Linked DNA regions of Homo sapiens: all the other regions are linked to region 2. The links are contacts of gene promoters, found by promoter capture Hi-C in blood cells and fetal thymus (Javierre and others, 2016). All regions are on one chromosome and are shown on one strand. Each heading gives the region's core, a stretch centred on a gene start or on the middle of the fragment in contact. The rest is flanking DNA. Distances are from core to core; before and after follow the strand shown.

Region 1 (3,508 bases), core at 194-2,693, 520 kb after region 2:
CCCAGCTGTGAATTTGTACAATCGAATACGTATAAGTTGGATGAATTCTTCTACTCTTGAGGTCCCAAGATAACTGGGGGCTCTGGACTTGTCAGGAAGTGACATTCTGTACATTCTGTGACATTTTGACCCTGTACAGAGACTGTGTAGACAAGGTATGAGGCCAGTTTTCCCAAGTGGCTTTTATTGGCTAAGTCAATTTCAATTCCTTAAAGGAAAGCATACCATTCCAGCCAAAGCTTTGGTAAAATAACCAGTTTCTCCAATTGTATCCTGCTACAACTCAAAACAGATTCTTATTGCACTTATGTAAAAAACTATATTGCCATAAGTTAAGAATACTCACAGTTTCCAAATTCCAGAGAAATCAGGTAGAGAGAAACAAATATGCTCTGAATTTTGTCCATAGGAGTATATTAAATTGTTAAAAGCTGTCAATAGCTCAAAAGAAAAGCTTCCTTGACTCCAAAAAATAAAGGATCAGCAACATTTTAAGCAAAAAGTCAAAAAGATTCCTTTAGTCTTCTATTAGTTCAGTCCATGAAGATAACTTTGTTATCTTCTGTTCTGCTTGATATTAATGAACATTTCAACTCTCCATGAGTCCTGAAAGTTTTTCCTTTATTCTGAAGTCACAATCTCCAAAGTTATCAGAATCTTGCATTCAAGAGTAACTGTTAGAGTTTTATAGCTGATTATAAAACCACCTTCTAAAGAGGACCAAAACAAGACAGTAATTGCCCATGGATGACAAAAAGTTTTAGGGCAGCCATAGTCACAGACACAATTGACAAGAAAATTTGTTACCTATGTAGTACACAATAATTTAATGTAACAATTATAATTATTACTGATAATGTACACTAAGTCATATCAGAATTATAGGAGTTTTCCATAATTTTGGAACACATACAAATAACATATGTATACAAATACAGCCCAAAGAAAACCAAATACTATTTCTTATTTGACAATGCTTCCTGTATAATTTTTATACGAAATAAGCCAAATGTGTCACTTTTGGACTTTAGGAATCTAATATCTTAAATGACTAATTAGGTCAGAAAAATACATAATTTATAATTTGATTTTGGAAAGGTTGTCAAATATAAAAGGTTTAAAACACTTGATATCACAAAAGAGGATCACAGTCACAAAGTGATAACTCAATGATTTCAAAAAAGGTGAAACCTTCATTCTTTGAGAGAGGAGACTTAATTTTCCTAAAAATAAGCCCTAATAAAAACAGCACAAAGCCAATTAAATTTGTTTTCCAAAATTTTATAAACAATCTATAAAATTTTAACCTTGACTATAAGATATAACTTCCATAAAACTTTTAACCTTTATTGAGGAGTCCATTAATGTTTCAAGAAAACTTTGTTAATCTGACACAGGGGCCCATATGCTGGTCTTGTATTGCTGTATCTTTGACATTAATGGTTAATTCACAGAAAAACTGAACTTATTTTATTTCTCAAAATTGGTTCTTTAAATCTCACATGACCACCTCTTCCATGATAGTCTCTGGGCCTTGAGGAGTTGAATAGCTTTAATTTCCGGCCCTGTGTCTCAGAAATGCAGTTTATTTTATTGGCATCTTCTACCAGGCCTGATAGTAAGGCTTTAATTGCTGTCAGTGTTTAAGATTTAACAGGACTTGGTGTTGTTTTTAGACCCAGAGTCAAAGCCCTGTAACTCAATGTCACAAGGACTTTAAAAGCACATACAGAAAGATACACAGATGTAACAACCTCAATTTAAAAAAAATTTTAATATCTTTTTTCTAAGCAAACCAAAACTTAATAATAATGACATTAGAATTATTTCAATAAAATGTAAAATCTGTTGGGCCAGTTAGCAAAAGGCAAAAGAAAAGACCTTCTGCAGTGCACAGAATATTATGTTGGAAGAAAACATTTCCTTTAGCCTTTAAGAAAACGTTATTAGCATCAGGCCACAATGAACAGAGCTTTAGGGGGGAAAAAATCTTATATGAGCTGAAAATGAGTTGAAGGAAAGTGTTATTATTTCATGCCTTTTAAAGAGGGGAGAGAAAACTGAAAAGAGTGAGATGCAATAAAAATTGAACTTTGGGTTAAAAAAATTAAAATCTATTATAATTTATTAAGAGTAAATCAGTCCCTTAAGAAGATTTCATTGCTCTAACCAATTCTTTAGTGTATAAGCGTTTTTTTATATTAAACCCAGTCTCCAGAAGGACCATTATAATTTCTCTTTAATAATAGACAACTTGATCACATAAAAGTCTGTTTTAGTAAATCCTCTTATTGTGACTTACGCAGACCATTCATGACATGTTTGGACTTTCTGGTTCGTCCTGAACATTTCTCTTTCTTAAAAAACCAGACATTTTATTCTAGGACTAAATTTACCATACAAGATTCTTTCTCATATAAAATTATTTCTCTTTAAGCTTTCTTACTCAAAAATGTCTCTTTATTTCTATAACTTGCTTTACATCTCTCTTATTTCCTGGTTCTTTTTACCTTGTTTTATATATAACCTTTAAATAAGCTTTAAATTAGACAAAATTGTTCACGTTTTTAAAAAGGACACTTTTTTAGAAAAAAGGTTTTCCTACAATATATTTTTATTGGAAAATACCCAAATAATGAAATATTTATTATTTAATTTACTATAACTTTAGATTCTAAATTATGAAGAGCTCATCTACAAGTATTTATTCTATTACATTTACCTAATTATTTTATTTTAATCACTTACCTAGATTAAGAAATCTGTGACAGTCATCATTTAAAGTTATGAAACTCACCATTGCAAAGTTATAACTGAGACCATGAGAAAGATATGACCTAAATGTCTCCATCTTGCTTCTAACTTCCAAGCTGTCCTTGCTCATTCCTGGGCATAAGCCCAACTAACTTTGGGAGGAATTTAGTTTGTAGTTTAGCTTTGAAACAAAAATAACACTCCCTTCCCAAAACAAACCTCCTTACTGCCTGTGGACTAGGCTGCCTAAAGCCATAAGACTAGAAGTTACAGTAATTTTACTAAATAATTCAAGATGTAGCTATTTTTATTAAACCAATCAATGTCTTACTCGCTAAATTTTATGCAAGTAAAGATCATTCTCTTTTGGACTTGGTTTATAGTTTTGTAACCCCCGTGCCTATTGCGGGATCTGGCTAGCAACAAAGGGGCTCTTTCTTTGTTCCCAGGTGGATCGGGAGGTCAAGAAATAAAAGACACACACAAGTTAGTGAAAGCTGAGTCCAGGGGGTCACCACTGAGATGCCGCCAATGCACTGGATATACCAGCATTTATTATTAAGTTTAGTGAGGGTGGGGGTAGGTTAGTGAGGGATTTAAGGTCATTTGATTATGAGGTGAGGTGGTCACATAGGGATGAAGTAATTCTTTAACATAACATCAGTATGCAGAAGCACAGTATGCAGAGCTAAGAATTTACAATATAGTGTGTGCATCAGCAATTTCTAACAGAGCCTTAAAACGGAAACACAGT
Region 2 (3,404 bases), core at 230-2,729:
GAGCTGTGCAGCATCCGTAGCAAGGTGTGTGCTCTTCAGGGCTAAAAGTCCTTTGGAATCAAGATTGTTTCTTGTTTCTTTTTTTTTCTTTTTTCCTTTTTCTCTTTCTTTTCTTTTCTTTCTTTCTTTCTTTCTTTCTTTCTTTCTTTCTTTCTTTCTTTTTCGTTTTTCTCTTTCTTTCTTTTTCTGTTTCTTATCTCCTCAGCTTGAAGGTTGCATCCTCTTTATCTCCTTAAGTAAAGCTGGGAGTTCTGTAGTACTCCAGGAGTGAGGACAATTATGCTTAAGAAACTTTGGTTTCAGTTTAGTCCCAGACCAAGAGGAAAACATTTCAAAATTTTAAAGTAAATCCTAAAAGTGTAATTTACACCAGAGCGATTGACCTGGCATTTATGTAGACTGAAGCTTGAGAAGTAATTCAAGTGGTTTCCACTCATTCCCTTGGAAGAGTCCTTAGAATGTACTTCCATTGGTCTGAAAAACGCCTGAAAAAGAGTCCTGATGCTAACAGTAATGGAAATAGGAGGGCTGGTGGTTCACGATCAGCCCAGTGGTATCCTCTATTCTATTTGCATCTAGGTAAAGAGACTGTGGCCTGTATGTGATCAAACAATTTGTTGAAGCGCTTTGGGCTTAGGGCATTTAATTTCTGTGAAGTAGGACCATCAGTTGTTTGCTCTGTTTTTGTGTCACCTCTCAGAATACATTAAAGTAGGGGCAACCCTTGAGCCCAGACTTCTGCCATGTGAAGACCCTTTGAAAATCCTGACAAACACAGGTACTGCGTAAGTGGTCAGCTAATTAAAGAGGGGAGGTGGAGCTGTCCTTTGTGTATCCAATAAGTACCCATTATCTCATTTGAGCATGAAAAGAGGCCACTGTTATTACTTTCAAGAAGGAAAGTAAGCAGGATAGCTCATATTTTTAGAACAATTCCTCACCAAATGGAATAATTCCGGTGAAAAGTGGGAGTGAGGAAGAAAGAAAAAAAAAACTTCTAATCATAATGTTTGGGAATAAGAAAGGAAGAAGAAACTCACGTCAAAGCCGACTTTCTCCTGCAGCTGTAAAATAAACTCTTAAGACCCTTCCTGCTGAAACTCTGGAGAGGAAAACTGGAGTGGCGGGTGGGCTTTGCCTGCAGCTCAACTCTCCCTCGCGGCGCGGGCGCGGCTGGGTTCAGCACCTCGGAAAGCGCCCCTCGCGGCGCCCCGGGATTACGCATGCTCCTTGGGGCCCGCCGCCTTGGCCGTGCAAGTGCCACCGTAACTGGTGAGAGCCGCTGGCAACCCACCCGGAGTTGACAACCGCGGAGAGACGCAGACACCCACTGACCTCCAGGAAGCTGAGCGTGGTGGATGGAACTCTACGATCTCTTTCTCTCCAAGGACGGAAACCTCATCCAAGCAGTCCCAGAGGAAACGGATAAAGGTATTTGAAAGGGAGCGAGCGGCCCCAAATCGCACAATTGAGCGGCTGGGGGAGTTATGCGCCAGTGCCCCAGTGACCGCGGGACACGGAGAGGGGAAGTCTGCGTTGTACATAAGGACCTAGGGACTCCGAGCTTGGCCTGAGAACCCTTGGACGCCGAGTGCTTGCCTTACGGGCTGCACTCCTCAACTCTGCTCCAAAGCAGCCGCTGAGCTCAACTCCTGCGTCCAGGGCGTTCGCTGCGCGCCAGGACGCGCTTAGTACCCAGTTCCTGGGCTCTCTCTTCAGTAGCTGCTTTGAAAGCTCCCACGCACGTCCCGCAGGCTAGCCTGGCAACAAAACTGGGGTAAACCGTGTTATCTTAGGTCTTGTCCCCCAGAACATGACCTAGAGGTACCTGCGCATGCAGATGGCCGATGCAGCCACGATAGCCACCATGAATAAGGCAGCAGGCGGGGACAAGCTAGCAGAACTCTTCAGTCTGGTCCCGGACCTTCTGGAGGCGGCCAACACGAGTGGTAACGCGTCGCTGCAGCTTCCGGACTTGTGGTGGGAGCTGGGGCTGGAGTTGCCGGACGGCGCGCCGCCAGGACATCCCCCGGGCAGCGGCGGGGCAGAGAGCGCGGACACAGAGGCCCGGGTGCGGATTCTCATCAGCGTGGTGTACTGGGTGGTGTGCGCCCTGGGGTTGGCGGGCAACCTGCTGGTTCTCTACCTGATGAAGAGCATGCAGGGCTGGCGCAAGTCCTCTATCAACCTCTTCGTCACCAACCTGGCGCTGACGGACTTTCAGTTTGTGCTCACCCTGCCCTTCTGGGCGGTGGAGAACGCTCTTGACTTCAAATGGCCCTTCGGCAAGGCCATGTGTAAGATCGTGTCCATGGTGACGTCCATGAACATGTACGCCAGCGTGTTCTTCCTCACTGCCATGAGTGTGACGCGCTACCATTCGGTGGCCTCGGCTCTGAAGAGCCACCGGACCCGAGGACACGGCCGGGGCGACTGCTGCGGCCGGAGCCTGGGGGACAGCTGCTGCTTCTCGGCCAAGGCGCTGTGTGTGTGGATCTGGGCTTTGGCCGCGCTGGCCTCGCTGCCCAGTGCCATTTTCTCCACCACGGTCAAGGTGATGGGCGAGGAGCTGTGCCTGGTGCGTTTCCCGGACAAGTTGCTGGGCCGCGACAGGCAGTTCTGGCTGGGCCTCTACCACTCGCAGAAGGTGCTGCTGGGCTTCGTGCTGCCGCTGGGCATCATTATCTTGTGCTACCTGCTGCTGGTGCGCTTCATCGCCGACCGCCGCGCGGCGGGGACCAAAGGAGGGGCCGCGGTAGCCGGAGGACGCCCGACCGGAGCCAGCGCCCGGAGACTGTCGAAGGTCACCAAATCAGTGACCATCGTTGTCCTGTCCTTCTTCCTGTGTTGGCTGCCCAACCAGGCGCTCACCACCTGGAGCATCCTCATCAAGTTCAACGCGGTGCCCTTCAGCCAGGAGTATTTCCTGTGCCAGGTATACGCGTTCCCTGTGAGCGTGTGCCTAGCGCACTCCAACAGCTGCCTCAACCCCGTCCTCTACTGCCTCGTGCGCCGCGAGTTCCGCAAGGCGCTCAAGAGCCTGCTGTGGCGCATCGCGTCTCCTTCGATCACCAGCATGCGCCCCTTCACCGCCACTACCAAGCCGGAGCACGAGGATCAGGGGCTGCAGGCCCCGGCGCCGCCCCACGCGGCCGCGGAGCCGGACCTGCTCTACTACCCACCTGGCGTCGTGGTCTACAGCGGGGGGCGCTACGACCTGCTGCCCAGCAGCTCTGCCTACTGACGCAGGCCTCAGGCCCAGGGCGCGCCGTCGGGGCAAGGTGGCCTTCCCCGGGCGGTAAAGAGGTGAAAGGATGAAGGAGGGCTGGGGGGGGCCCCATTTAAGAAGTAGGTGGGAGGAGGATGGGCAGAGCATGGAGGAGGAGCCTGTGGATAGGCCGAGG
Region 3 (3,649 bases), core at 148-2,647, 520 kb before region 2:
AGAACTATAATTCAACCTAGTGTCTCATACAGTTGGTATTTCTTAGTTAGAAAAAAAAAAAACAAGAAAACAAGAAGAAACATAATCTTGTTTTGCCTCTTTCACACCTAATTGTGATTTAAAAAGTAAGGTTAATTTTCCTAAAACAACCTGATGAGACTTTATTCCAACACAAGCAACATGTGCATACCTGGGTTAGATAAACGAATAAGATACAGAGACCTGTAACACACCTGGAGGGGCCAGGTTTAGGTAGAGAATAAAAATGAGAGACTAGCTTGGGGACCCCAGAATGTGGAGATTCCTGAAAGTGAGAGACTCTGGAAAGACAGCTGGATAGCACTGATGCCTAGCATCAGTGCTATCCCCAATGGGTCACTAATTACCACTTGATGATGATAATGTTAGTGGCAACTATACACCTGCATCACTGCATTGCTCCTCCCAGAAAAGGAACTGCAAATGCTGATTTGGCTTAATCAGACCTTCAACAGAGTTAATAATCCAAGAAGACCTCCAGAGAATTGTCAAGGAGGTTTATTGTCCATAAAACATTCATGACTCCAATCCAAAAACAAGGGCAAGCTCACCAAGCTTCAGAAGCCAGAATGGCTCCATCCTACAAAAAGATAGCCCAGGAGTTCTAGCCATGGCACTGCACATACATGGGTGGATAGTTTTGTTCTGGAAGCTCAAATCTTGGGGACTGTTTTGCATCCTTCCAGATCTGATTGATTAAGAGGTAACCTTTGAATTGAGAAAGTTCACACTGCTTAGGTCAGGTTCACTGGGAATATTTGCTGCACTACAAGACTTTCTCTGGAGCCCCTGTTCCCTTTCAGAGACCCTATGCTAAGATCTTCTTGAAAATCTAAGAGAAGGGTTGAGAAGAACATCATAAACCACAGCCAGCCTATAGAAAAGTGTGATATTTGGTTCTACTACACTGAAAATGTGGGAGTTTTACATTTTACATTTATGTTTTATATACATTAGGCATACTAATGTATATAAAGCTGCTAAATGGTATGTGTCACATAATAAGAATGCACACATTCCAACCAAAGTTGCCAAACTTTGGATTGTGAGCCATCAGGTTTTTGGTAAAGTTTTACTGGAGTACAGCCACATCCACCATTTACATATTGTCTATGGCAGCTTCCATGCTATGTCAGCAGAGTTGAGTATTTGTGATGGAGACCATGTAGCATTCAAAATAAAAAATATTTGCTATCTGCCCCTTCCCAGAAAATGTTTGTCAGTCAATACTCCACTATTTTTTCATTCAGTCTTAGCTTGCCCTGGGAGCCGGATAGAAAACACGAGGTATCGGGGGAGCTCTCCTCTCCCTGATGGAGATAAACCAACTTGGAATCTCAGTATACTGCTAAGTCTCATCAAATGAACTGTTCTGTCTGAGTAACAATCCAACAGTCTTATTGTAAAAATGCATACACTTTTATTATCACAAAGGCCATACAACCAAAGATGGAAGCCCTTAAGTAACTGTCAAATCACACAAGAGGATGGGAATGACTTTCATGTTGAATTACAATTCATCATCTCAATGGTGCTTGCCAAGGTTTTCTCATTGTTTCCATTTATGAAACACTGCTTTTTAATTTTACCTCTTGAAAGGGTAAAAGAAAAAAATATGCTTTGAGTTTTTTCACTTAAAAAAGAGAAGTTCAAGTAAGTAGTGCATCTTAATAGTACTATTCTTGCTTTTAAGGGAGGGGGAAAAGGTGGGAAAGCTAGTAAATATATTTGGAGAGAAGAGGAATCCCCCTTTAAGCTAAAATATGGGTGGAACAAGTATAGTCAAACATCAGAAAAAGCAAATTATCCGTATTACCAAGCTAAATTCCAAGATTCATCTGGAAAGTATGTTCTGTGACAAACTACTCTGAATGCTCTTCTATATCACTCACCAGTTGGAGTTATTAAGGTTTATATCAAATTTCCTAGTGTTTACTCCTGGGTCTTTTTTTATTTTTATTTTTACTTATTTATTTATTTTTGAGACAGAGTTTCGCTCTTGTTGCCCAGGCTGGAGTGCAGTGGCGCGATCTCGGCTCACCGCAACCTCCGCCTCCCGACTTCTAGCGATTCTCCTGCCTCAGTTTCCTGAGTAGCTGGGACTACAGGCATGCACCACCACACTCAGCTAATACTCCTGGGTCGTTGCAAATCCCTTACGGAAGCTTTTAGCTTTTAGGTGGGAAGGCAAGTCTGTCTAAAAAAAGAGAAAAAAAGAAAAATGTAAGAGACTGACGGAGGTAGACTTCATGCTCAAACTCAGCTCTGCCATTTACTAGCTATGTGTCCTTGGGCAAGTAGATCAATTTCTCTGAGCTTTGGCTTCCTCATTCATAAACTGATGACAATAATAGTTTCCACCTCTTTAGGCATATTCATGTATGTAAAGCAGTGAAGTGGTACCTGTCAAATAATAAGAATGCAAACATTCCAACCAAAATCACCAAACTTTGGTTTGTGAGCCATCAGTTCTTTTTGTATATAAAGTTTTATTGGAACACAGCCACATCCATTCATTCACGTATTGTCTATGGCAGCTTTCACTCTACATCGGCAGAGTTGAGTAGTTGTGACAGAGACCACGCAGCCTGCAAAGCCAAAAATATTTCCTATCTGCCCCTTTCAAGAAAATGTTTGCCAGTCCTTGCATTAAACAATTTTTTAAAACTATCATTATGATAACTTCCTTTTCTTATTTTATGTAGAGAGAAACTTTCACAAACTGACTTTCAGAGAAGTATAGCAACTTAATAAGAATGATCCAACAAAGTGAAGACAGGGCTTCTCTTCTGCTCTTCCCACTGCGTATTCCTTACTACATTTATAGAACCTTGAATGAGAGCATTTTTTCAGGAAGCACATTTAGCTTAGAGGTCCCATAACACATCTGCTATTTTTCCAACTGACTGGCATTCAATTCAGATTGAACTTACTAAAATGAAACATTCTCATTTAGGGTTGTGAAAGTGATTAGAAGTTGTGCATAGTTTGGTTCTTCCCAAGAACCCTACCCCAAAATATTCTTTTTTTTTTTTTTTTTTCGAGAAGGAGTCTTGCTCTGTCGCCCAGGCTGGAGTGCAGTGGCGAAATCTTGGCTCACTGCAAGCTCCGCCTACCGGGTTCGCACCATTCTCCTGCCTCAGCCTCCCAAGTAGCTGGGACTACAGGCGCCCACCACCATGCCCGGCTAATTTTTTTTTGTATTTTTAGTAGAGATGGGGTTTCACCCTGTTAGCCAGGATGGTCTCCATTTCCTGACCTCGTGATTCGCCCGCCTTCACCTCCCAAAGTGCTGGGATTACAGGCACGAGCCACTGCGCCCGGACATTTTTTAAAAAAATTCAACTTCTATTTTAGATTCAGGGGGGTACATGTGCAGGTGTGTTACCTGGGTATATTGCATGATATTCTTGATTTTTAAAAAATTGGCTCAGATGACCCCAGTGTGCTATCTTTCTCTGGGCTCCGTTTTCTTTGAAGTCCGTGAGAGTAGGAAACATCCCCAGCAGGGCTGAGTCCCTGACTGGAGCCTTGATCTCTGAATGTAAGTTTAACAAAAGCCTCAGGGTCACCCAAGTTATCATCAAGTGGGTAAGTTAAAAATGGAGGC

What was found. Contacts are between HindIII fragments. The CHiCAGO score rates a contact against its expected background, and 5 or more counts as called.
Region 1: a fragment that was not itself captured here is called in contact with the fragment with the promoter of RXFP3 in region 2 in 1 of 17 cell types (M2 macrophages); the score reaches 5.5 in M2 macrophages.
Region 3: a contact is called between a fragment that was not itself captured here and the fragment with the promoter of RXFP3 in region 2, in 6 of 17 cell types (activated CD4 T cells, total CD8 T cells, naive CD8 T cells and 3 more). The highest score is 7.3, in activated CD4 T cells.

What each region holds. Positions count from the first base shown.
Region 1 is chr5:34,457,803-34,461,310 of GRCh38, forward strand. No RefSeq gene overlaps it. Among named protein-coding and RNA genes, the nearest start is that of RAI14-DT, 200 kb to the right of the region's middle. The HindIII fragment of the contact is 1,983 bases long and covers 453-2,435 here.
Region 2 is chr5:33,934,907-33,938,310 of GRCh38, forward strand. It overlaps RXFP3 (relaxin family peptide receptor 3), which reads left to right and starts at 1,480. Exons shown (of 1, transcript NM_016568.3): 1 at 1,480-3,404. The coding sequence starts at 1,835. The coding sequence ends at 3,244. The HindIII fragment of the contact is 5,701 bases long and covers 404-3,404 here.
Region 3 is chr5:33,416,753-33,420,401 of GRCh38, forward strand. The region is part of intron 2 of TARS1-DT (TARS1 divergent transcript); the gene reads right to left. Among named protein-coding and RNA genes, the nearest start is that of TARS1-DT, 22 kb to the right of the region's middle. The HindIII fragment of the contact is 1,610 bases long and covers 593-2,202 here.